6 separate regions of the Homo sapiens genome follow, and regions 2, 3, 4, 5 and 6 are each linked to region 1. Evidence: promoter capture Hi-C in 16 types of primary human blood cells and fetal thymus (Javierre and others, 2016). All regions are on one chromosome and are shown on one strand. The core of a region is centred on a gene start or on the middle of the fragment in contact, and the rest is flanking DNA. Distances in the headings are between cores, read along the strand shown. Region 1 holds the start of NFE2 (nuclear factor, erythroid 2). Region 2 holds the start of SARNP (SAP domain containing ribonucleoprotein). Region 3 holds the start of PFDN5 (prefoldin subunit 5). Region 4 holds the start of IGFBP6 (insulin like growth factor binding protein 6). Region 5 holds the start of PMEL (premelanosome protein). Region 6 holds the start of RPS26 (ribosomal protein S26).

The links. The method cuts DNA at HindIII sites, captures the fragments that hold promoters and counts their contacts. A CHiCAGO score of 5 or more calls a contact.
Region 2: a contact is called between the fragment with the promoter of SARNP here and the fragment with the promoter of NFE2 in region 1, in 1 of 17 cell types (erythroblasts). The highest score is 6.8, in erythroblasts.
Region 3: the fragment with the promoter of PFDN5 here is called in contact with the fragment with the promoter of NFE2 in region 1 in 1 of 17 cell types (erythroblasts); the score reaches 5.6 in erythroblasts.
Region 4: the fragment with the promoter of IGFBP6 here is called in contact with the fragment with the promoter of NFE2 in region 1 in 2 of 17 cell types (naive B cells and total CD4 T cells); the score reaches 6.0 in naive B cells.
Region 5: the fragment with the promoter of PMEL here is called in contact with the fragment with the promoter of NFE2 in region 1 in 1 of 17 cell types (neutrophils); the score reaches 8.5 in neutrophils.
Region 6: a contact is called between the fragment with the promoter of RPS26 here and the fragment with the promoter of NFE2 in region 1, in 1 of 17 cell types (erythroblasts). The highest score is 7.2, in erythroblasts.

What each region holds. Positions count from the first base shown.
Region 1 is chr12:54,299,159-54,302,825 of GRCh38, reverse strand. It overlaps NFE2 (nuclear factor, erythroid 2), which reads left to right and starts at 1,811. Exons shown (of 3, transcript NM_001136023.3): 1 at 1,811-2,025. RefSeq lists an enhancer at 924-1,664 and a cis regulatory region at 1,065-2,039. The HindIII fragment of the contact is 10,882 bases long and covers 1-3,667 here.
Region 2 is chr12:55,815,119-55,819,301 of GRCh38, reverse strand. SARNP (SAP domain containing ribonucleoprotein) reads left to right here and starts at 1,578. Exons shown (of 11, transcript NM_033082.4): 1 at 1,578-1,636. The coding sequence starts at 1,601. ORMDL2 (ORMDL sphingolipid biosynthesis regulator 2) reads right to left here and starts at 1,261. Exons shown (of 4, transcript NM_014182.5): 1 at 1,190-1,261; 2 at 129-303. The coding sequence starts at 302. The HindIII fragment of the contact is 4,326 bases long and covers 1-2,725 here.
Region 3 is chr12:53,293,668-53,297,644 of GRCh38, reverse strand. PFDN5 (prefoldin subunit 5) reads right to left here and starts at 2,103. Exons shown (of 6, transcript NM_002624.4): 1 at 2,006-2,103; 2 at 1,704-1,806; 3 at 1,370-1,401. The coding sequence starts at 2,077. RefSeq lists enhancers at 1,196-2,395, 1,881-2,420. The HindIII fragment of the contact is 3,517 bases long and covers 1-2,659 here.
Region 4 is chr12:53,096,175-53,099,821 of GRCh38, reverse strand. It overlaps IGFBP6 (insulin like growth factor binding protein 6), which reads right to left and starts at 2,155. Exons shown (of 4, transcript NM_002178.3): 1 at 1,771-2,155. The coding sequence starts at 2,104. RefSeq lists silencers at 135-350, 1,638-1,757, 1,768-1,847. The HindIII fragment of the contact is 8,294 bases long and covers 1-3,647 here.
Region 5 is chr12:55,963,750-55,967,467 of GRCh38, reverse strand. It overlaps PMEL (premelanosome protein), which reads left to right and starts at 1,426. Exons shown (of 11, transcript NM_001384361.1): 1 at 1,426-1,532. The coding sequence starts at 1,457. It overlaps CDK2 (cyclin dependent kinase 2), which reads right to left and starts at 638. Exons shown (of 7, transcript NM_001798.5): 1 at 344-638. The coding sequence starts at 459. RefSeq lists an enhancer at 868-947. The HindIII fragment of the contact is 16,386 bases long and covers 1-3,718 here.
Region 6 is chr12:56,040,668-56,044,622 of GRCh38, reverse strand. It overlaps RPS26 (ribosomal protein S26), which reads right to left and starts at 2,705. Exons shown (of 4, transcript NM_001029.5): 1 at 2,454-2,705; 2 at 2,021-2,198; 3 at 1,130-1,260; 4 at 1-504. The coding sequence starts at 2,456. The coding sequence ends at 469. RefSeq lists enhancers at 2,017-2,276, 2,417-2,746, 2,195-2,984 and a silencer at 2,897-2,956. The HindIII fragment of the contact is 3,314 bases long and covers 306-3,619 here.

The sequences.
Region 1 (3,667 bases), core at 562-3,061:
CATTATATAGTCAGCCACAAGTGTGACTGTTACCATTCTTCATCCCCTCTGAGTGGCCCAAATAAATATGCAAATGAGAGAATTATATCTGAGAGCCTACATATGTGACCCAGATTCATGCCCAAGTCTGAAGAGATTCTGAACCCACATGTAACATGTAATGAAGGCATTGGATTGCCTCCTGTCTTACCTTGATCATGCATGTGCAGTCATGATCTACTGGAAAAGGGATGGAATTCAAAGCATTTAACCATAGGTTTGGCATGGGCATTGGCCAATTCCAGCAGAAGCAGGCAGCACAGGAGGCTCCTTATGGTACCAGCATTGCCTCTTTACTTCCATGGTTGTGTTGCTGGGTTGTTGGGGATCTTAGAGGAGAACTAGGCTATTGGTGGAGTCGTGGGGGACACTTAGAGGGCTCACAGCAGCTGCCTTTTATCAACTAGGACTGAACATTTTCATTATTTTAACAGCAAATACAATCCCATCAGAGCATGCTGGTTGAATGCCAGTCCTACTCCAGAGTGGCACCTATCTGCTTCCCCAGTCTTCAGATGTTTCTAATTTAACTTGAACATTGTAAGAAGAAAAAATGTAAGCTGCAGATGTCAGGATTGAAGCTAGACATATAGAGCTGAAAGCCATTACAAATTAGGAGGAAGAAAGGCTCTTTTCTCACAGTCTGTGGAGAAAGATGTTTGACCTGGGGCTTTGGTGGTGTAGCTTGCAGGCAAAAAGATGAATAAGTGGGCTGGGTGAGGTGGCTCATGCCTGTAATCCCAGCACTTTGGGAGGCCAAGAGGGGAGGATTGCTTGAGCCCAAGAATTCAATACCAGCCAAGGCAATATAGTGAGACACCACTTCTACCAAAAAAAAAAAAAAAAAAAAAAATTAGCTGGGCATGGTTGCACTGACCCATAGAACCAGCTACTTGGGAGGCTGAGGTGGGAGGATTGCTTAAGCCTGGGAGTTTGAGACTGTAGTGAAACATGTTCACACCACTGCACTCCAGCCTGGGAGACAGAGTGAGCCCCTCTCTGGAAAAAAAAAAAAAAAAAGATGAATAAGGGTACTTACTGGCCTAACAGAGTTGGGTGCCATGTGGCTGGGGTGCTTTGCCTGGGAGAAAGGAGGACAAAGGACACCTGGGGTCCCCTTTACGGGAGGTGAATAATCTCCCTGCTGGGTGGCCCCCCACCTAACTCCCTTCACACACTGACAAAAACCTGGCCAAGAAAGAATCCTTTGTCCTGGGACTTCTGAGGCTGAGGGGGGAGGGGAGAAGGCTACAGGTGAAAGGACACATCAAAGCAGTCAGTTGCCCCTCCTCCTCCAAATAGTTCCCCTGCCCTTGTTCCCAGAGCCCAGGTTTTCTGTAAATGAAGGCTATACCCTAAACGTCCAACTGCCTAGACAGCTGGGAAGCTAGACACCTGGTCCTTACCTTCAGCTGCCTTCCACCTTGATATGACTCAGTTTCCCTGTCCCTAGGAGAGCCGTGGGGACACAAGGCGACGACAACCTGTATAAAGTTTAAAGGTCACATTCGAGTGGACCATCAGGTTGGAATTCGTCAAATGCATGGGAGAAACGCAGACCTGGCTGGACTCCTGGGCTGAAAAGGAGGGCTGGGAGAGGCTTGGAGCCATGTGTGCCCCCGCTGGCCAGGAGCAAGGTGGGGGCGGGGTGTGGGCAGAAACCACATCGGGCTCAAGTTTCCTCTCTTGGCCGAAAGGGGCAGGAGGAGAGGAGAGCCACGGGGAAAGGGGAGGGTTGGAGGAAGGACTGAGAACTCAGGCCGAGGGCTTCAGACGCTGGTGCGCCTGCTTGGGGCTCCTGTGCTCAGCTCAGCCTGAGCTTCCACACTCAGCGCTCAGCAATGGCCCGGGGGCGGGGCGCGGTCCTCGCAGATTCTCAAAGGTAGCCGGGATCCTCGTCCAGCAGTGTCAGCTCAGGCTCAGCCTCCCCAGAGACAACACCGGGAGCCTCATCTCTCTCCTCACCCTGCTGTGACTCCACCACAGGTGCCTGAAAGGCAGGGTGTGTGTGGGGGGGGCGGATTCCAGTGAGATCCGAGGGGCAGGCTGGGGGGTGAAGGAGGTGAGGGGGGAAAATAACCAACTTTCGGTATCCTAGGAGACCTCAGACTTTCTAGATTGCCCCTGGTTTAGGAATCTGACATATTTGGGAACTCCTCTAGGAGAAGACCTAAGTGGTTTCTTGGGTGCTCTGGGATCCTTGGGGTGGAGGCTGTGAATGGGGATCAGAGAGGGGTCTCCAGAGGCAAGGCACCGCTGAGGGGCTGGGGAGTAGCCAGGAGGAATCCTTCAACTGGTGGGCTACCCTGAGGGAACCAATAGACTACCCTTTCCCCAACTCCATTCCATTACTCTGCCCTGTCTAGGCAGCTGAGAAGGTTTAGGGAAAGCTGAGGAATTGGAAACACTGGATATCTGAACCTCTGAGAAGTGTTGCAAGGTGCGGGGGTTGGATGGGAGATTGCCTCTGGGTTGTTGGCTCCTTTGCCCTTTCTCTTCTCTGTGCCCAGGGGCAGTAGAGATCAGCTGGACCTGGAGGGAGAAGGAAGACATCCCAACCCCAGCATAGTTGCTTCTAACTGGAACTCTTGGCTGCTTGGGAAATAGGGGCTTGGGAAGCAGTGGAAGAGAAGAGAGGAGGTATCAGAACTGCTGGGGCTGGGATCCCCTAGACATCGGTACCAAAGGACTGGAGTTTGGGGTCCAGGGATGAAGTGACACAATAGCAGAAACTCGTCCCCCTCTTCTTTGTTCTCACACATTTGTTTGAGTCATGCATGTCCCTAGGGCACTGAGCTCACTATGCTTAAATCTCTCTCCCTCCTTTTTTTCCCCTTCATTCTGTCTCATCTCTGTGTGTCTCTCTCTCTTCGGGAGTTCTCCCTAATCTTTCTAAATAGGTTGCTTACCGGTTAACCAATACCCCAAGTTTTACTAATCCCTCCTCATCCTTTCACTGCACCTATTGACACCTGGAGAGGTGAGGTGGTCAAATAAGCCTCAGAAAAGGGATCCTGAGGCAAGCCCCCTCTCATCGTTCCCCCTCGTTAAGGAAGTTAAGAGCCCTGGGGCAGCAGCTAAGGCCAAATGTATTCCTCTCTCCATCATCCCTCTCCGAATAGTCCTCACTCTGTATTCCTAATCATGAAGCTCCGTATCATTCTGTGAGTACTTAGGGATTATGATAAAAATCTTTCTGGGTAGGACCACCAGGCTAAGAGTAAGGAGGATGGACTTTAGTCCCTGGTGACAACCCCATTTCTACCTAATCCATAATGTTGGGGAGTAAGAGAAGGAACAGACAACCCAGTGGGAGTAAGATGGTGGTGTGACCCCAAAATGCAAAAGCTAAACTGTAAAGTGGGAGCTTCTTATTGTAAAAGAAAGGGAACACAGGGAAGCCCACTTCACTTTCCCAGTATCTCCCCAGTTTCTATACCCTCTATGGTGTTCTATTTGATCCAATTCTATCTATCTCCCTGATCTATCCCACTGCCTGCCAGCTCTGCTGTCCTCTGAAAGGTAGGCTCTGGAAACCCAGAGGGACCCTATGCCTGGTGTATAGAACACCATCCATCCTTGAGCGTCTAGGGAAAAGCATCCTGCTCCACCTGCCACCTGGTACAAA
Region 2 (4,183 bases), core at 329-2,828, 1.5 Mb before region 1:
GTTTTTCAGTCAAAGAATTATGTTAAGATCCCAAAAGGAACACATAAATCCCCAAACAATTGGTGATTTTATTTTGCTTTTGGTTGGGAAACCCTGGGGTGGGTACAAGGGCGTGGTTTAGTGCTCACCAGGTTATGGATGACGTTGGTCAGGGTCCAGACAACAGGAATGCTGAAGAAGGGGATGCTGAGTAGAACCATATGCAGCAATCCTACCAAGATGATGTAGGCCAGCCAGATGCCTCGGCTATTCATCACTCGGGTGTTGGGGTTTACTTCGCTGTGTGCCACCCCCACATTCATCCTAGCCGTAATGGGGGATCAGGCAGGAGTCCAGCTCAGTTTTTTCTCAACCCCTCTTGAGCTATCTCCCAGTTGTCTCTCAGATAGCCCCAATCCCCTGAACTCTATTGGGAATGAAGAACTTACCCATCACGCAGAAAATAAAAACTGAAGACTTGGGGAAAACTTTAAAAGACAAGAAGAGTCCTCACTACATTTCAGAGACATAGTCATTATTGCTCTGATCTTTACACGTCAACTGTAACATGAAGGTGTATGTGTAGGCTTGGGGCACTCACTTCAGGGAGCAAGGGAAATAGGAGTATCTGACTTTGCTGAAGAAGTTAATAACCATGAAGAGGTCACGTACACCCAGAATTCCAGGCGAAAGTCATGGAATCATCAAAGAACCACTAAGAAGGGATGACAGAGTAAAGCTCACTCTGGTCCCCACTTTGTTCTCTGGGGCTTGTCCACCCTCTCTCTCACCTCCGTGGCATGTAAACAGTCTGCATCCCCATTACTTCTCTCAAGCGTGGGGCACGACAACAACTTGCCCACGGCTTCTGGACTGGGTTAGGAAGGGACCTGAGCTCAATACCTCGAAAGGTGGAGCCTTGGCTCTGACTCCAGGGGCAGCAGTGATTATCTGAACTCGGATCTTTAAAATTGTGGTAGCTCTAAAGCTGATGATGTCTGGTTAGGAAGCGGCTCTTGCCCGCCCCAGCCCCACCGCCAGTTCCTTAAGCCCGCCCCATGCCCCTCCCAGCTTCCTCCTCATGTTCATCGGTTTTTTCAGGGCTCCCTTCAGCGCTCCCCTCTCAGTATTTAGGTCACCACTCCCTCGGCGCCCCTTTCGCCTCCCACCATTTTTCCTCAGCAACCCTTACAGTCTTTGCAGCTCCTACCTGCCAGCTCAGATCCCCGTCCGGCTATGGGCGCGGCGCCGGCTACCACACCTGAAGTCTCCAGGAAGTAACGCCTCTCCTTCTGCCCCTTTCCTATTGGAGGAACAGAATCAGCGCTGCCACCACCCATTGGTTGGTGGTCTGTAATGCAGAAGCACAGTTGGTTGCCATTTCTGTCGTTCGCAAGATACAGTGCCCGCCCCTCTCCCAGTTCCACCTTTTGAAAGAGGTGGGGCAAGCTGCCTAGAGAAGTGAGAGCGACGTCAGCTATTGACCAATGGGAAGAGCTGATGGTATGGCGTGGGAGCAAGAGTGACAACGATTGGTCAGCCTTGCATCTCTACGCCTAAGGCGGGAGCTCCTGGAGGCGGAGGCCGCGGGTGGGGGCCTAGTGGAGTGAGGGGTAACAAGATGGCGACCGAGACGGTGGAGCTCCATAAGCTAAAGGTACCGTGAATCGGGGAAGGGCTGAGTTGGACTTTTCTAGGAACTGAATTCTACAGGGTAGCTTGCGCCTTCTCCTACGTCTTCTCCGTGCAGCCTTTTCCACTTCGTTTCTCGGCTCCCGCCGTAGCTCTTTTGTGCCACCCTTCCACACTACGCCTTCCCTAATTTCCCATTTCTCCTCACGGCTTTACTGCTATATTTATTTGTTATTTCTGCTTCCTTCATCATTGTATCGTCCGTCACCCTTCCCCACTGGGTTGTGTAAGTGCCTTCTACCTGTTATACTCTTCGTTGCTTTTCAGGGCTGCATTACGTCAGTTGGTCCCTCCTTTTTGCCCCATGTCGGAGCCAGGATCCGTTTTTCTTCCCTGGGATGATGTTTCCAGTCTGTCGTCCGAAGCTGAGATTTCCCTGTTAGCAAATGGTGGCATTTTTGTGTATTTCTGTCTAAATAGGTACCAGACACTCAGAAAATACTTCCACTCCCCTTTTCTAGGTGGGATTACGCCCCAAGCCGAATTTTGAAACAGGGAGAGGCCTCTCAGAAGATCGGTCTCGCCTTAGAAGCCTGGGGTTGAGGAGGTCTTGAGAATAGTAGAAGTACAGACACCTCAGATTTAAAAGTTTTCGAGTTCTGTCACGCGGCTCTCGGCCCGCCAGCCTTCCTCACACACCATCTCCAACCACCAGAGAGAACTCACACCTGCAATATTTGGGAAAAACAATTCCAAGGTTAAGATTATCTCTGTTCCATTTCATATCTCGGGTGGGCCCTGCATCTCCTGGTGTTACCATTGGCTGACACTGAATCACAGAAGCTATTTTAAATTGTCTTATGAGACTCTTGGTAGTTTTTTCACACTTAGATATATAAAAAAGTTAAAAAAATATATTAAAAAGAAGAACATTTTAAAAAGTATTTTCTTTTAGGGTAAATTAAGATATCTTGAGTAATTGTCTGTTTGTGGTTTCACAAGTAGTTTTCCCATTAGATGTTTTGGACAAACCAGGCTGATATAGCTGAAACTGAAAAGTGATCCTTTAAAGCTCGAAAAGTTTTTTTTTGTTTTTGTTGCTGTTAAGAAAGCTTAAGGGTAGTAAGGGTAGGGAGAGGACCCTTCTTTAGTCACTTATTAGTTGACCCCAATTAGTCTTTCTGTGAAACTGATGTTTTTCTTACTCTTGGATTCTAAACTCTGTTAGTGGGTTTTTGTGTTATTCTGGAGTTATTGTTAACTTGATGATACTGAAATGCATAGACTATATCAGCGGTCTCTTGATCTTTATTGTGATGAGTTAAAAAAAATTGAGCAATCATCTCCACTTTGTTTATATATACTGTACTTATAGAAATTGTATACTTCTGGACTGTTATAAAATATAACACAGAAAAGGAATTTTTGAATGAGATAAAAAGGAACTATATATAGAAGAGCTAATATTTTCTTCCTATTTGTCCTATTTTTGAAATCCCTGGAGTAAGTCACCAGCTGCCCGATGACTTACTTGCATTTATAGATTGTGTTGGTTTATGGAGTTCCTCCTTCCATCAAATCTGTATTTGTCAGGTCTATATAAAATTTGTATTTGATTGGATAAGTAACTTTTACGTAAAGTCCTCTGACCTGATTTCAGTGTTACAGTCTAAGAGAACATTAGGCACTCCTGACAGCCTAAAAAGGACTTGCTCTTTAATCACATTTGCTTGTCTTTGCTTTTTCTCTAGAGCACTTCTTAACCTTTTGGAGGTCACAGATATCTTTGAAACTCTGATGAAAGGTATGGACCCTCTCCCCAGAAAAAGGCATGTACACATATTTTGCATGCAGTTTGAGGGGCTTCATAAAACTACCTTGTAGCCCCGAGGAGTCCATGGACCTCTGGTTAAGAACTCATGCCTTTAGCTGGGCGTGGTGGCTCACGTCTGTAATCCTAGCACTTTGGGAGGCCTAGGCGGGCGGATTGCTTGAGGCCAGGAGTTCGAGACCAGCCTGGGCAACATGGCGAAACCCCGCCTCTACCAAAAATGCAAAAATTAGCCAGGTGTGGTGGCAAGTGCCTGTAGTCCCAGCTATTGAGGAGGCTGTGAGGAGGCTGAGGCACAAGAATCGCTTGAGCCCGGGTTGGAGGTTGCAGTGAGCCGAGATGGTGTACTGCACTCCAGCCTGGGGGACAGTGAGACTCCGTCTCAAAAAGAAAAAAAGAACTCATGCCTTTGATTCTGATTTTTAGGACAATTAATGTTTGGTTCCACTGGTGATCTTGATGCAATGATCCTGACTTCTGGGTTGACTTGGGGTTTTATTGCCTTAAAAAAAAATCTTGGCTGGGTGCAGTGACCCACACCTGTAATCCCAACTCTTTGGGAGGCGGAGGCCAGGAGTTTGAGACCAGCTTAGGTAACATAGTGAGACCCTGTCTCTACAAAAAAAATTAAAAAATTAGCTGGGCATGGTGGCACACACCTGTAGTCCCAGCTCCTCAGGAGGCTGAAGTGGGAGGATTGCTTGAGCCTGGGAGGCCAAGGCTGTGGTCAGCTGTGTGATA
Region 3 (3,977 bases), core at 854-3,353, 1.0 Mb after region 1:
ATGCTGGAACACCCTCTTGTCCTGCCTCATCCCATCTCTCACTCTCTAAGCAGTTCTTGCAATTCTTCCCATTAGCCCCTCCAGAAAGACTAGACATGTTTTCCTACTGTTGTAGAGTACTACAAGTAAAAAGCCAGCCTCATTTCCCTTAATGCCCTCAATCATGAAGTAGCTAATTCCTGACAAAGTCAATGTTTTGTTTGTTTTTTGCTTTCTGAGACAGAGTCTCGCTCTATCGCCCAGGTTGGAGTGCAATTGCCCGCTATCGGCTCACTGCAACCTCTGCCTCTCGGGTTAAAGCAATTCTCCTGTCTCAGTCGCCGGAGTAGCTGGGATTACAAGCATGTGCCACCACGCCTGGCTAATTTTTGTATATTTAGTAAAGACAGGGTTTCACCATGTTGGCCAGACCGATCTCTAACTCCTGACCTCAGGTGATCTGCCAGCCTTGGCCTCCCAAAGTGCTGGGATTACAGGCGTGAACCACTGTGCCTGGCTAATTTTTTTTTTTAAACCATTCCCTACTACACACTACTATTCCTGTGTTCCTTTTAGCCTGTCAGTTCTGAGACTACAGATTAAAGATGCCCTACTGCCATAACTTGCTCATTCAAATAAAACACTGAACAAGTGAACACAATCCAGGTTTCTTAGTGACAGTTTAGAAATGAGCCACAATTAAGCTGAAGTTGAAGATTAACAGAGCCAAGCTCCCTGTTTCTATATCCTCCTATTTTTGTCTATTGCCTGTATCTTCTAAGATATTAGCAAAGTGTAAACCACCAGCTTTATCTCCATATTAATGTTCTCAAACAGCAAAGGGAAATATTACATCTCAACTATACATACTCCTTGGTGTTCACAAGACATTAGCTGGATGTTGGTGTGAAGTCAGATAAAAGAGCTACAAAGTGTGTAATAAGAGTATTCTTGGCCGGGGGCAGTGGCTCACGCCTGTAATGTAATCCTAGCACTTTGGGAGGCCGAGGCAGGCGGATCACGAGGTCAGGAGTTCGAGACTAGCCTGGCCAATATGGTGAAACCCCCAACTCTACTATTAATACAAAAATTAGCCGGTCGTGGTGGCGCGTACCTAAAGTCCCAGCTACTCGGGAGACTGAGGCAGAAGAATCTCTTGAACTCGGGAGGCGGAGGTTGCAGTAAGCCAAGATCTCACCATTGCGCTCCAGCCTGGGCGACAGAGCGAAATTCCGTCTCAAAAAAGAAAGAAAAAAAAAAAGGGTATCCTCAAAATCATTGTGAGGAGAGGGTAATCTGAAGTAATCAAAACAATCCCCCTCCCCGCTTTTTGGGGGAGTGAAGGAGAAAGGGAGAAGGCAGCAGGTAGCCGTTCCTGTGGAAAGGATACAGAACTCGTCAGTGGGACGAGTAATTCTTTCCCTGTGAAAGCAATGAAGACAAACACCTGGGGAAGGTTAGCGGCTCCAACGTAAGACGTTAAAGAGAGTTCCAACAGGGCACAGCACCCACAGACAGTGTGAAAAGAACGGAAACAGGGGCAATAGGAGCAGAGGAATGTCCTGTACTTTTCAATTCTAGGCAGGCAACATGCAAAGGGTTCATGAAGCGGTATACGATATGTAATGGATTTTCTCGTTTCAGGTAAGAAAAACTGGGTTAGGAGGTGGGACGAGAGAAGCAGGTTCGCCACTTTAGGTTACCCTCACCCGCCTACCCCATACCCTCGTTGCTCTTGTTCAGCACGTTCAGACAGTCCTTGGCTTCCACATACTTGGTCTGTACCACTTTGAGCTGAGCAATGGACGTGGACAAGAACTCCACTTCCTACAGAGGACCGGGATAGCGGGTCAATGAGAGGACTAAGGGGAGAAAGGAGCGCGGCCGGGGAGGGGGCAGGTCCTGGGATCGGATAGAGGTTTCGCCTGGGAAAGGTAGGCTGCCAACTTGGAACCGGGCGCGAGAAGTACGCGTGGGCAAGGGGGATGTAGAGCAGGAAAGAGGTGCCTCTGGGGCCCGTCCCCACCTGGTCCAGCTGGTTCTTGAGCATTTCTAGCTGCGGCAGATTCAGCTCCGTGATGTTAATAGACTGCGCCATGTTGGGAAGGCCGACTTAACGAAGAGGAAGTCTCTCGGCGAGCAACGCTCTAGCCGTCCTCTGCGCGTCTCGGTGGCGCCGGGAGGCCTCGCTGCGCCAGACAGCTCTATGATCCTCCGTCCCGGAAGGGAAGGAGGGGCTTGAGCCTCTCAGAGACTGTTGTGTGAGTTCATTTCATAAAATGTCTTAAGCCTAGTATTGTAAAGTAGCAGCAAACAGGACTCCTGCCTACAAGGAACTGCAAAATCTTAAAGTTCTCACGACACAACCACGATATTACAAAGTAGTGTATGCTACTCCACGTGGGTGGTATAAGCTACTGGAAAGCAGGCTGGATTGCCATGGCGACGGCTCGGGGGCCTGGCCCTGCTCCTCTCCACCCCGCTTGCTATTGCTGCCTGCTGGTACCCCGCCAGGCCCGATTTCAAATGTTCCTCCCAGCACGGCATGGAAATGGCAGGGAAATTCTAAACTCTTTTTCCCAGATGGCCTCTGAGGCCGAAAGGCAGGAAAAAAAAAAAAATCCCTTGTCAGACCGTTCTGAATTGTCCTTGGAAAAAAACAGGCATTAGATTGAAAGCTTGTCGAAGGCAGGAACCAACCATGTTCTCATCACTGAACCAATTCTTCCCCTCTCGCTATAACCATCTTCCCCCAGCCGGAAGTAGGCTGACACGTAGTAGGATCTGAAAAAGGGTTTATCACCCGTTGCCAGTGAGGTGGTGGGAGAACAGCAAGGAAGCGCCATTGTCAACCAAGTACAGCACAAATTAATCAATAAAATATTTTGGCCGGGCATGGTGGCTCACGCCTGCAATCCCAGCACTTTGGGAGGCCGAGAAGGACAGATTGCTTGAGCCCAGGAGTTTGAGACCAGCTTGGGCAACACGGCGACACCCCGTCTCCACAAAAAATACAAAAATTAGCCGGGCTGGTGGCACACGCCTGTAGTCCCAGCTACATGGGAGGCTGAGGTGGGAGGATCGCTTGAGCTGGAGAGTTGAGGCTGCAGTAGGCTGTGATTGTGCACACTAGCAACAGAGCTAGACTCTGTCTCAAAAAAAAAAAGGTTTTACCATGTGCTGTATGTGAGGGATACGTGAGAGTGTAAGATACTTGCTTCCCTTGAGCTTAACAATTGGAGAGAAAAACCACACTAGAACTCCACAGATCCACAGACTCTACTGCTAAAGTTACACATTGGTAAGTGTAACAGGTGTACATGGGCAGACAGCAGTAGCCTTTAACATCTACTTAGGAGGCAGGCAGGGCAACTGAGGCATTAAAACTAGTGCCATGGCTGGGCGCGGTGGCTCACGCCTGTAATCCCAGCACTTTGGGAGGCTGAGGAGGGTGGATCACAAGGTCAGGAGTTCGAGACCAGCCTGGCCAATATGGTGAAACCCTGTCTCTACTAAAAATGCAAAAATTAGTGGGACGTGGCGGCATGTGCCTGTAGTTCCAGCTACTCAGGAGGCTGAGGCAGGAGAATCGCTTGAACCCAGCAGGCAGAGGTTGCAGTGAGCCGAGATTGCGCCACTGCACTCCAGCATGGGCAACAGAGCAAGACTCTGTCTCAAAAAAAAACAAAAACAAAAAACAAAACACTAGTGCCACTCCAAAGATACCTGCGGCAGGAAGACAGGACGGACGGATGGTACCTGGCCAAAACACTCTCAAAGGGTCTATCACTACCCTTCCTTGGGCCTGTCTCTACTTAGCATTTTGATGCCCCTTTCTCCTCCAGATTTGTCTGCTGAGGCCCAGCCAGGCCCAGCAGGCTTTGTCCTGTGTCTTTGCCTTTCTTCCCCAAGCACTCAAACTTGATCTGCTGTAACCTGTTCCTGTCAGCTTACAGTACCACATAGTAGGAAGGGGGCAGTCATGCCGTGTCTTTAAA
Region 4 (3,647 bases), core at 906-3,405, 1.2 Mb after region 1:
TTAATTTTAAAAAATTAATTAATTACTTAATTTTAAAAAATTAACTAATTACTTAATTTTAAAAAATTAACTAATTTAAAAATCAATCAATTAATTACAATAAATAATAAAATAAATGAAAAAATGGAGAACAAATTCAAAGGACTATTTGGGGCTTTGGGCTTTGGGTGAAAAGACCTGGCTGTTCCACCAGAGGCCAGAAGGGGGCGCACGAAGCCGGAGAGCTGGGGCAGAAGAGCAACGGATGTAGGAGGGGGGCCAACAGGGACCCAAAAGGAATGTGTGTCCCTGCTGTGACCTTGCTATGACTCAACCCACCCCTCCCAGGCCTGAGATGTGGTTACTTCTGGGGCACTGCAGTGGGAACCTCTCCCTTCTGGTACCCTGTGACCCAGGCCAGCTCAACCCCAGTGGTCCCAGGAGCACATGGATTCAACCCTTAACCAAGATAGGCTGAGGGCAGATTAAGAAGGTGCAAGGAATGAGGGGCTTCCAACCTGCAGGTTGCTCCTGGCTCTGGAGAAAGTTTCCGGAGGGTCCGGGGAGAGCTCAGGACTGGGAAGGGGTGAGGAAATAAGTCAGGGACAGGAAAAGGCAGAAAGGGGAGCATGTACTGACTGCTTGGAATTTGCCTAACATCTAATCAGATATCAGAACCCCTGAAGGGATCCTCTTCCTCTGTGCCTAAAGACAAGCTCCCAGCTAACTACCACTCACAACCCAGGAGACATTTCCCCTGCAATCCTGAGTCTGATCCTTCTTCCTCAGGATGCCCACCCCTCCCCAGACCTTCTCCTTCATTCCCTACATTTAGCACCCAACCATTTAGTTCCAAACTGCCTCCTCTCATCCACCCAGACCACCTTTTAGGAGGACGCCCAGAAGCCTGCACTCGGGCATTTGGAACTGAAAGAAACTCCAAGTGAATTCTCCATCCCCTCCCGTGGAAGGAACCCAGAGCCTCTGGGATGCGCAGTTTGCATTTCCTGCCCTCCCCATCTCCCCGCTGCCCCCCATGTTTTCACGGCTGATTCACTTCTGTCCCACCCACCCAGTGACTCAGCTTCTGCTCTCCTCCCTGGAGCAGGGTGGGGTAGGATGGGTGAACGATTCTGAGCAGGTTTAAATCATAACCCTGATTTGGCAGATTCCCTCTTTCCCCTACTCTTTCTCCCCTCTCCCCTAACCTACGCCCTAGCCTGCCCTCAGTCCCTACTCAAGTCTAATACAACCCTGGATTTGGGGCCTCTTCGGTTCTAGACGCCTCCTGTTTAGGTGCTTCGAACACCGGTATTAGGAGGAAAGGAGTCATTTCTCAGTGTGTGCAGAATTTCAGAGTCTGGGGTTCCCCTCCCCTTTTCTCCAAGTGGAAGCTGAGAACAACATTTGGGTCCTTTCCCCAGCTTGGCCGTCTAGGGTTGTAGGAGCTGGGCCTGCTGGAGCCCATGGGATGGCCCTAAAACCCTCCCATTTCTCCCCCTGCCTCCCCCAAGTTCCCACCTGCACGCACACTCCATCAAGGGAAAATAAATGGAGCAAAAAAGAAGGCCGAGAGCGCAGACACCTTCTGCTGTATCACCAGGTCCCCTGGCTGCACCTCAGCTTCCTGCACTTGCCCCTTCTCCCCCACACAAATGTGCCCCCCAAAGTCGGAAGCGTCAAGGGCCAGGGCGGAAAGGCTTGCCGGGCCACCCACTCCCGTCTCCCCAGGACCCTGCCTGGAGGACGCGGGTCTCACGTGGGCGGGGCAGGGGCGGGGCGCGGACTCACCAGCAGGCGCGCGGGCCGGAAGGCAGCGGCCTCGGCCGAGCAGCAGCGCCCGCAAAGGCGCCTCGTCGTCCTTGGGCGGATGGCACTGCAGTCCTGGGGCGCAGTTAGGGGTGTAGACCCCGCACTCCTGCCCCTCCCTCCTGAGACAGCCCTCAGCTTCCGCGCAGCCCTCGGCTGGCGACCCCCCATCCTCCTCCTCCACGCAGCCCCCTGGACAACCCGCCTGCACCCCTTGCCCGCAGCCTGGGCACCGCGCCAAGGCGCCTCCTGGGCTGGCAGCGAGCAGCAGAGCTAGCAGCAGCAGCAGCGGTGGCAGCAGCCTGTGGGGGGTCATGGTCAGGGTTTGTGCCCCGTCCTCTCCTTCCAGAGCAGTCGCAGCGCAGCTGCTGCCCGCCGCCGCCCCTCTGTCTTAAGTAGCCGCCGGCCAGGGGCCGGGCCCTTTAAGAGCCAGGTGAAGGGGGGTGGGGGAGAGGGCAGGGGCATTCCCTAAACTGGGTGGGACTGGAGAGGGCCCCCCCAACCTGGGTCCTCCCCACTCTTCTTTCCCTCTCCCTTTCCAGTTTCTGTTTACTTCCCAAATTGCTCTGATTTTTCTTGCTTTGTTCCCGGGAATCTCGGCCCGGAATTTGGGAGCTGTACAGCTGGCTGGAGGGACTGGAGGGTGGGGAGGAGCGGAAGAAGGGGAGGACGGGAGTGCAATCCACTTAGTGTGTATGTGTAGGACGACGAGGGGCATGCAGGGACCCGGTGGGGAGTGAGAAGACGGGGGCTGAAAGGGAACTGAGAAGAGATGGTGTGTGTGGATCACAAGAGGAGTGGGCAAATGTGGAGGGACAGAGAAAAGATGGAGAGGGTGGATAACGGGGTCTTGGGAAATTCTACTGCTGATGGGAGAAGTAGAACAGGGCAGAGGAGAGGAAGGGCAAAATTGGGAAAGGAGTAAGAGAAAGCACCCTTGAGGTAAGACTATGGAGAAAAGGGGCCCGAGGGGAACCAGACTGGGGTAAGCCAATGGGGGAAGGGCCGGGAGGCAGGGAGGGATACAACTTGAATGAACCGTAGGAGACCCTAGCATTGTGGTGGGCGCATGCGGAGTCTGGAAGGATTGGAGAGGGCTGTGTGCAGGGTGAGAACTGGCTGGGAGGCAGGGAAAGGGGGAAATTGGCAGGTTGAAACTAGAGAGGGAGAGAATTAAAGGAACTCGTATTCGGGATGCTCTTGGGGACAGTGGCCAGAGAGCAGACCCCACCCCCCTCCCCATCCCCGTCCTTCAGGTAAGCTCGCTCCTCCATTCCTCTCCTCTCCCAGAATCCGTTTCCTTCCCTCCCAGTCATCCATGGGGTTTTCTAGATTCATCAGACTGTCTTGTGCCCAGGGGACTTTGGGGAGGGACTACTCAGCATCTTTGCCTACCTACTTGTCCGCCTTCGCTCCAAGGGTCGGGTTCCACCGCTCCCCACCCGCCTTCCCCAGGCAGTGTCCCGCCCATCCCAGGCACTCCTAGCCAGGCCTCACAAGAGAGAGGAAGAGGGATTGTTTCCTTCGGCAACCCACACCCACCCAACTCTGGGTTATGCAACAGGGACCATCTCATTCTTTCCTAAAACAAGGGCTCTGGGCAGTGACTAAGTTTAAATGCTGGGCCCCAAGCAACAATGTCAGCAAGGCCTTCTTGAACTTTTAGGTAAATAGAAATAATACGAACCTCATTGTCAGCACAGCCCGCTTCGCCATGCAACCCTGGGACCCTAGGACATGTGTTTGGAGAATGGTGTTTTCCTGTTTCCCTGAGATACTGATGCAGACTGGAGAGGCAGGGAGGAGAGGGTTGTGGGGCAGCTGATGGGAGAAGCTACTGCTGATGGGAGAAGTAGACC
Region 5 (3,718 bases), core at 177-2,676, 1.7 Mb before region 1:
GGCGATTCTCGCCGGTTCCCACATAACTCCACTCCATGGAGAGTCTTGGACCTCATCTCAGAGACCTCCTTTCTCTCCCCGAGTCTGTAGTCGCACATTTGGGGGCACGATCCGGCTCAGTTTGGGAAGAAAGTTTTCCATGGATTCCACACCACCCTATACTCTCCCCAGGGAGTATAAGTATACTCTTCACCTTCTACTGGCCCCCAACCCACCTCTCCACTTCTAAAGAAGTCCCTCCCTGCTCTCTTCCGGTCCCTGGACGGCTACCCGCCCGTGGGGGGTTGGGGGGGACAATCAAGGAGGTCCCCAGTTAGGAGTCCCGGGTACAGAGGCCACTCACGTGTCCAGGCGGATTTTCTTAAGCGCCACCACCTCTCCCGTCAACTTGTTTCTGGCTTTGTACACAACTCCGTACGTGCCCTCTCCGATCTTTTCCACCTTTTGGAAGTTCTCCATGAAGCGCCAGCGAGTCGGGTCAGCCCGGCCCTGGAGCGGGGGCCTGGGAACCCTGCAGAAGGCGGACCCTGGCTCTCGGGGGCCGAGGAGGGGGAAACAGGGCCCAGTACCGTGGCCCCGGGTCGGGATGGAACGCAGTATACCTCTCGCTCTTGTCAATTTGGCCAACTTGAAACAATGTTGCCGCCTCCCACCGAGTTCCCGACCGCCACCAGAGGCCCCGCCCCTGCTTCCCGCGTTTCCCTGGCTCCGCCCCCAGGCCTTTCTATTGGTCAACGTCAGAGCCGGGGGGCGAGCCCAGCGCTCCTCCCCGCAAATGATCCCGCCCCAGGCAAGTTTGGTTCTTGGGGGCTAGACAAGTTTCTTCCCCGGTGGGGCGGCTGAACACTCTTCCCAAGTACCTGCTTTGGGTCCAAGTTTCCTACCTATGTCTCTAGTCTGTAGGGATTTCTTGATTTCTAACTCACTATTTTCACCAATCCTGGGGAAAATATGTATCGACCTAAGGTTAAATTCCACCTGGCCCAGGAGCCTCCTTTGGAAACCAGGAAGCCGGGAATCTCGTTGCAAAGGAATCCTGGGCCTCAGAGGAGTCGTTGCCTCTGCCTCATAGCATACCCCGACACTGTCTCTGTTTTGGGATGCAGGGTTCTGTTTCTGTCTTTTTGAGAAGTTCCTGGTTTAATTCACTCTCCCATGATAAACTGTTGTGTCTGGTATGTGTTACGCAGCTGCCTTTCAGTTAGCTCTTGCCCGGGAGTGCATCAAGATGAGAGTGACCCAGTGAAACCAGAAACTGTCATTGAGTAGCAGGATGGGAAAGCAATGTCTAGGGACCAGGATCCCTTTGTCAGTTTTTCCTTTTTCCTCTCCTCCGGCCCCTCCCAGGCCTTCTCTGAGGGAGAAGAGGAAGGGCTATGCAAATGAGCACCCTTTTCTTATATAGGGGCCTATCCCAGTCCCCCCAGTGCCTTTGGTTGCTGGAGGGAAGAACACAATGGATCTGGTGCTAAAAAGATGCCTTCTTCATTTGGCTGTGATAGGTGCTTTGCTGGCTGTGGGGGCTACAAAAGGTATGTGTGGATATGTGGACATGAGCAGGTGTGAACTTGGGGATGAATTCCCCCTGCTCTGGTTTCTGTCCTCCTAATGGGAGATAGCGGCAATATTTCAGGCGTCTCCCACTCATTTGATTTAGTGAGGATGTGGGCACCTGGGCTCCCTCCCTACATGGAGATTTGGGATTTTGCCTGAAAATAATCTCATATGCTTGGAGGGGCAGAAGGATAGAAGGTCTCTGTGGCACTGATTCTGAGGCTTCCTTGGCAGTGAGCTGGAGCACGGGCTCCAAAGGGGTGAAATGTGCAGGAGACTCTTTTAGGAAACGTCTCTTGGGGTAGGAGATTTAAAGTGGGGAGTCAGAGAATGTGGTATTGGGTAAGAACACTAAGGAGATACAATCCTCTCCTCTTGGGATGGGTACGGGTGAACACAGCCCAGACCTTTTGTTCTGGGGCTGGAGAGATAGGCAGAGGGGTCTCAGCTGAGCATCACATGAAAGGGCTCTGGGGGATTGGGCCTCGTGACAGGAGCAAGGGGCGGGGGTGGGGTGGTGAGAGGGTCTGGAATGTCCCGTGCTGCTCTGAGGAGAGTTGGAAGTGGAGAAAGAATGGGGTATCTTATGACTTCTCTTGTTCTAGTGGTGGGATGCTCAATAGATGATTCCAGATCCTCCCCCAGCAGAATCAACTAGGGTTACAGCACACATTAGAAAGGGAATGAGGCCGGGCGCCGTGGCTCACGCCTGTAATCCCAGCACTTTGGGAGGCTGAAGCAGGTGGATCACGAGGTCAGGAGTTCGAGACCAGCCTGGCCAATATGGTGAAACCCCCGTCTCTACTAAAAGTACAAAAATTAGCTGGGCATGGTGGCACATGCCTGTAGTCCCAGCTACTCAGAAGGCTGAGGCTGGAGAATCACTTGAACCCAGAAGGCAGAGGTTGCAGTGAGCCAAGATCACACCAATGCACTCCAGCCTGGGTGACAGAGCGAGTCTCCGTCTCAAAAAAAAAAAAAAAAAGAAAGGGGATGAGGCCCGGCACAGTAACTCATGCCTGTAATCCTAGCACTTTGAGAGGCTGAGACGGGTGGATCACTTGAGGTCAGACCAGCCTGGCCAATATGGTGAAACTCCATCTCTACTAAAAATACAAAAATTAGCTGGGCATGGTGGTACGCACCTGTAATCCCAACTACTTGGGAGGCCGAGGCATGAGAATCGCTTGAACCTGGGAGGCAGAGGTTGCAGTGAGCCGAGATCACACCATTGCATTCCAGCCTGGGCAACAGCAAGACTCTGTCTCAAAAAAATAAAAAAAGAAAAGAAAAGAAAAGAGATAAGGAGGCCGGGTGTAGTGGCTCACACCTGTAATCCCAGCACTTTGGGAGGCCGTGGTCATAGGATTGCTTGAGCCCAGGAGTTCAAGACCAGCCTGAGCAACATAGTGAGACCTTGTCTCTACGAAACGTAAAAAAATTAGCCAGGCCTAGGCCAGGCTTGGTGGCTCACGCCTGTAATCCCAGCACTTTGCGAGACCAAGGCAGGTGGATCAGCTGAAGTTGGGAGTTTGAGACCAGCCTGACCAACATAGAGAAACCCAGTCTCTACTAAAAATACAAAATTAGCTGGGCGTGGTGGTGCATGCCTGTAATCCCAGCCACTCAGGAGGCTGAGGCAGGAGAATCGCTTGAACCCGGGAGGCGGAGGTTGTAGTAAGCTGAGATCGTGCCATTGTACTCCAGCCTTCCAGCCTGGGCAACAAGAGCGAAACTCTGTCTCAAAAAAAAAAAAAAAAAAAATTAGCCAGGCTTGGTGGTGAGCACCTGTGGTCCTAGCCACTTGGGAGGCTAATGAGGAAGATGGCTTCAGCCTAGGAGTTTGAGGCTGCAGTGAGTGATGAACGTGCCACTGCACGCAGGGTGAGAGAGCAAAACCCTGTATCAAAAGGAAAGGAAAGGGGAAAGGGAAAGGAAAGGGAAGGAAGTTTCTGCAGGAAAGGGAAAAATGGGGTGAGGGTAGTTTTTGCTGTGCTGAACTATATACAGAAAGGAGAGGAGAGGGGAGGGAAGGGGAGGGGAGAGAGGTTTCTGCAGGAAAGGGAAAAATGGGGTGAGGGTAGTTTCTGCTGTGCTGAAATACATACATTATATCCCAGCCCTGCTTTCTCCCTAGATGTTTAGTGTCACAGATTTCTAGGAA
Region 6 (3,955 bases), core at 1,456-3,955, 1.7 Mb before region 1:
CCTGTAATCCCAGCACTTTGGGAGGCCAAGGCTGGTGGATTAACTGAGGTCAGAAGTTCAAGACCAGCCTGGACAACATAGTGAAACCCCATCTCTACCAAAAATACAAAAATTAACCAGGCATGGTGGCAGACACCTGTAATCCCAGCTACTCAAGAAGCTGAGGCAGGAGAATCACTTGAACCCGGGAGACGGAGGTTGCAGTGAGCTGAGATCACGCCACTGCAATTCAGCTTGGGCGACAAAGACTCCGTCTCAAAAAAAAAAAAAAAAAAAAGAAAAAAATTAAATTACATGAATAAGCTTTCTTCCCCATGAAAATAATGTGTGTCACTTCACACTTGGTCTAACACACAAAATCCCCACCTTATCTGGCACAGATACACTTAACATGCAATATTAAGTACAATTTCCATTTTATTTTTCTCCAGAGAATAGCCTGTCTTCAGTCTTTAAGAACTCAGCTCCTTACATGGGCTTTGGTGGGGGACGTGGGGCAGCACCCTGAAAGACAAAGAAACAAAAGAGTAAATTAAAACCCATGGATCCAAGACTCCCTTCCCCCAAAGAACTTGACCACCATCCTCTCACAAACTGATGTATTCAGGCTACAAATGCATGGGAAGCTGATAGAGGTGGAGGGAGAACACTACTCTGCATCCTAAAAACCAATTCTGATTCTAACACTGCTTTGCAGTGTCTCTAAGCATGTTCAGGTGTGGGTCTCACCTGCCTTACAGCTTAACCTGAGGCACAGACCTTAATTTGATACCCCCTGCACCACAGGAGGAAGCAACTTTTTTTTTTTTTTAAGAGACAAGGTCTCACTTTTGCCCTGGCTGGAGCGCAAGTGGTATAATCATAGCTCACTGCAACCTCAAACTCCTGGGCTCAAGTGATCCTCCTGCCTCAGCCTCTCGAGCAGCCAGACTATAGGTTCACACTATCATGCTTGGCTTCCTTCTCAATATTTTTTGAAGAGATGGGGTCTTGAACTGCTGGTTTCTAGCAATCTTCTTGTCCCAGCCTCCCAAAGTGTTGAGGTTACAGGTATAGGACACCCTGACCCTCCAGGATGAAATTTTAACCATCACTCCCCTGGCTTCCATTCTCCTTTTAAAATACTCACCGCAGGTCTAAATCGGGGTGGGGGTGTTCGGTCCTTGCGGGCTTCACGAGATCGATTCCTGACTACTTTGCTGTGAATTGCACAACTCACACAGTAATGTAGCTTCACATACAGCTTGGGAAGCACATAGGCTAAGGAATAGAAAATAGAGTTATACTGGTATTATATACCTACCTTGCTTTTTTGTTACATGAATGAAGAGCACCTTACATGTTTACGTCAATTAAAACTAAACCTATTTAAATGCCTGTCGGGCACATAAAAGCACCCCCAAAGCACCTGTTCAGCCCAATACCTGAGCACATATGTATAACCCTCAGTTTTACAAGTGAATTAACATCCCACGTGAGTTCATCTTGACACCGCAAGGACCAGACTGACATTCTAAATGCAATAAACCAATAATCCAGTTCCTTCTACACCTACACCCGCCCTAATGCCTACCCTGAACCTTGCTCTTTCTATAAAAGGAAAAAAACAAAGCGACGTTCTTATTGCTCCAAACATCATCCTTGCACACCAAACTAGACGGCCTCCATTCTCGAAACGTTGAAGACATTCTTCCTCACCTGTATATTTTCACAAATATTCAAATAATCAATAGCACAAGAATTGTCAAATTTACCAAGTTTCTAGTTTTTGCAATCTCATAACCGAAACAGGCAAACCTTTACCTCAGAGTAAAGGCTGTGCACTCTATCACAAAGTCACCCTCTGCCCAGAAAAGAATCAAAACGGCAAACAAGAGAATTCTCTTCTACCAGTAACAACCTTAAATACGTGGAAATTGCCTGAGAGGCTCCAAAGAACAGAGCCTCCAAAAGGGCGAAGTTGGGCGAAGGCTTTAAGATACTGGGATCCTCACACAGTTCGCGCCGGTGACCCACTTACCATCGAAGACGCTCGCTTCAGAAATGTCCCTGACTGCTGCGGCCTCCACTATGTTTCGAATGACGAATTTCTTAATGGCCTTGTCCTTGGGCACGCATCGGGCACAGTTAGTGCAGCGAATAGGCTGCACGTGGCCGCGGCCCTTTTTGGCACGACCATTGTTCCTTCTTTTCTTTGTCTGCGACAGGATGGGAAAACTGTTAGGAAAACGGCGCAACTCACCCAGCCTCAGTCCCTTTCCGGCCACAAGCCGCACCGGCAGCCTCCAGGAAGGCGCCGCTCGGATCTCCTGTTTCTCCGCAAATCCCGCCGACCCCCAGAGCAAATGAAATGTACACTCGGTCCACCCCTCAGCCGTGCTCCAGGCTCTCACTTCCCCACAATCCCAGAGTCTGCACCCGAACCCCCACCCTCACCACGCAAGAAGACTCACCATCTTGGAGGCACGGACCGGAGAGAGGAGACGGTGCCTGGCAGGGCCCTCCTATATAGCATGAGATCCCTACGCGGACACCGGGAGAATCCTTAGGAGACGGGCTTCAAGAACGGCAACTCACTTTACTCAAATATTCCTTTACATTCAGCATTTCTGCTGAAATCTAGGGTGGAAATGCGTTCCTAGTGTTTATTTATCCATGGAACAAAGTGCACATGGGACTATTTAGCCGGATGGCGGAAGAAAATCGAGGTTATGTGTCTCCCAGCAAGCCTTGCGCCGCGCCGACTCGGAAGCAATTCTGGACGATGCAGTTTTCCGGTATACGCGACGCTAGGCGTGAAAGTTGCCAGACGCTGGACCACAAGGCGCACTCGTTATTAGAGGCCAGAGAGGGACAGATGCTTGGTGGGAATTGTAGTGCGAAGCCAAGAGGCTCCCCCCTCCCCCCCTTCCCCCCTGCCCCAAGTGCTTAGACCGAAGGCGGCGCTGCGCCACCGGGGGACGCCCTGGGCTCATTTCTCTGACAGTCCTTCTACTAGGTAGGTGTAGGATTACGAAGAGGAAGGCCTGAGAGGAAACAAGCATTTTGTGAATCCCTCCTTCCAATATGGAGAAAATCCCACAATGAAGTGCATTGAGGCTGGGGCTATTTCTCATTCATCTTTTTATCTCTGGCACAGTGCCTGGCCCTGTGGTAAGCGTCTTTATAAATATTAACTCATTTAACTTTGAGCAAGCCTATAGGTAGCTACTATTATTATCCTCACTTTAAAGATTGAAGAATTTAGCCCGGCCTGGTGGTGGGCGCCTGTAATCCCAGGTACTCAGGAGGCTAAGACAGGAGAATCTTGAACCTGGGAGGCGGAGTTTCCAGTGAGCCGAGATCGCGCCACTGCACTCTAGCCTGGGTAAAAAGATCGAAACTCTGTCTCAAAAATAAATAAATCAATTAAAAAAAAAGATTGAAGAACTGACGTGCAGTAGGTATTCTGGCTCCGCTGTACTATGCTGTATGTCACCTAACAAATGGATGGAGGAATAGCCTGGACTAATGACTTAAACGTTTTTCACCCAGATTCATAGCACGAATACATTTTACATTGGTACCCAGTACACACACAAACACGATTACATGCACATGCAAAACTGAAACACAAGCTTTATGAAACGATACTTACCCTTGTCATAGGTGTGCTGGTATGTTCTATTCTTTATTTTTACTTAATCTTTCTGTTCTCTATTTTAATAAATGCTGATCAAAAACCACGAAAATTATTTCACCACTCATTAGTGAATCTGACCCCTAATTGAAAGATTATGTGTAAGCTCCATTTACCTCTGAAGAGCCATCGGAAAGACTTAAGCCTTAGGCTGGGTGCAGTGGCTCACGCCTGTAATCCCAACACTTTGGGAGGCCAAGGCAGGCGGATCACCTGAGGTCAGGAGTTCAAGACCAGCCTAGTCAACATAGTGACACCCCACCTCTACTAAAAATA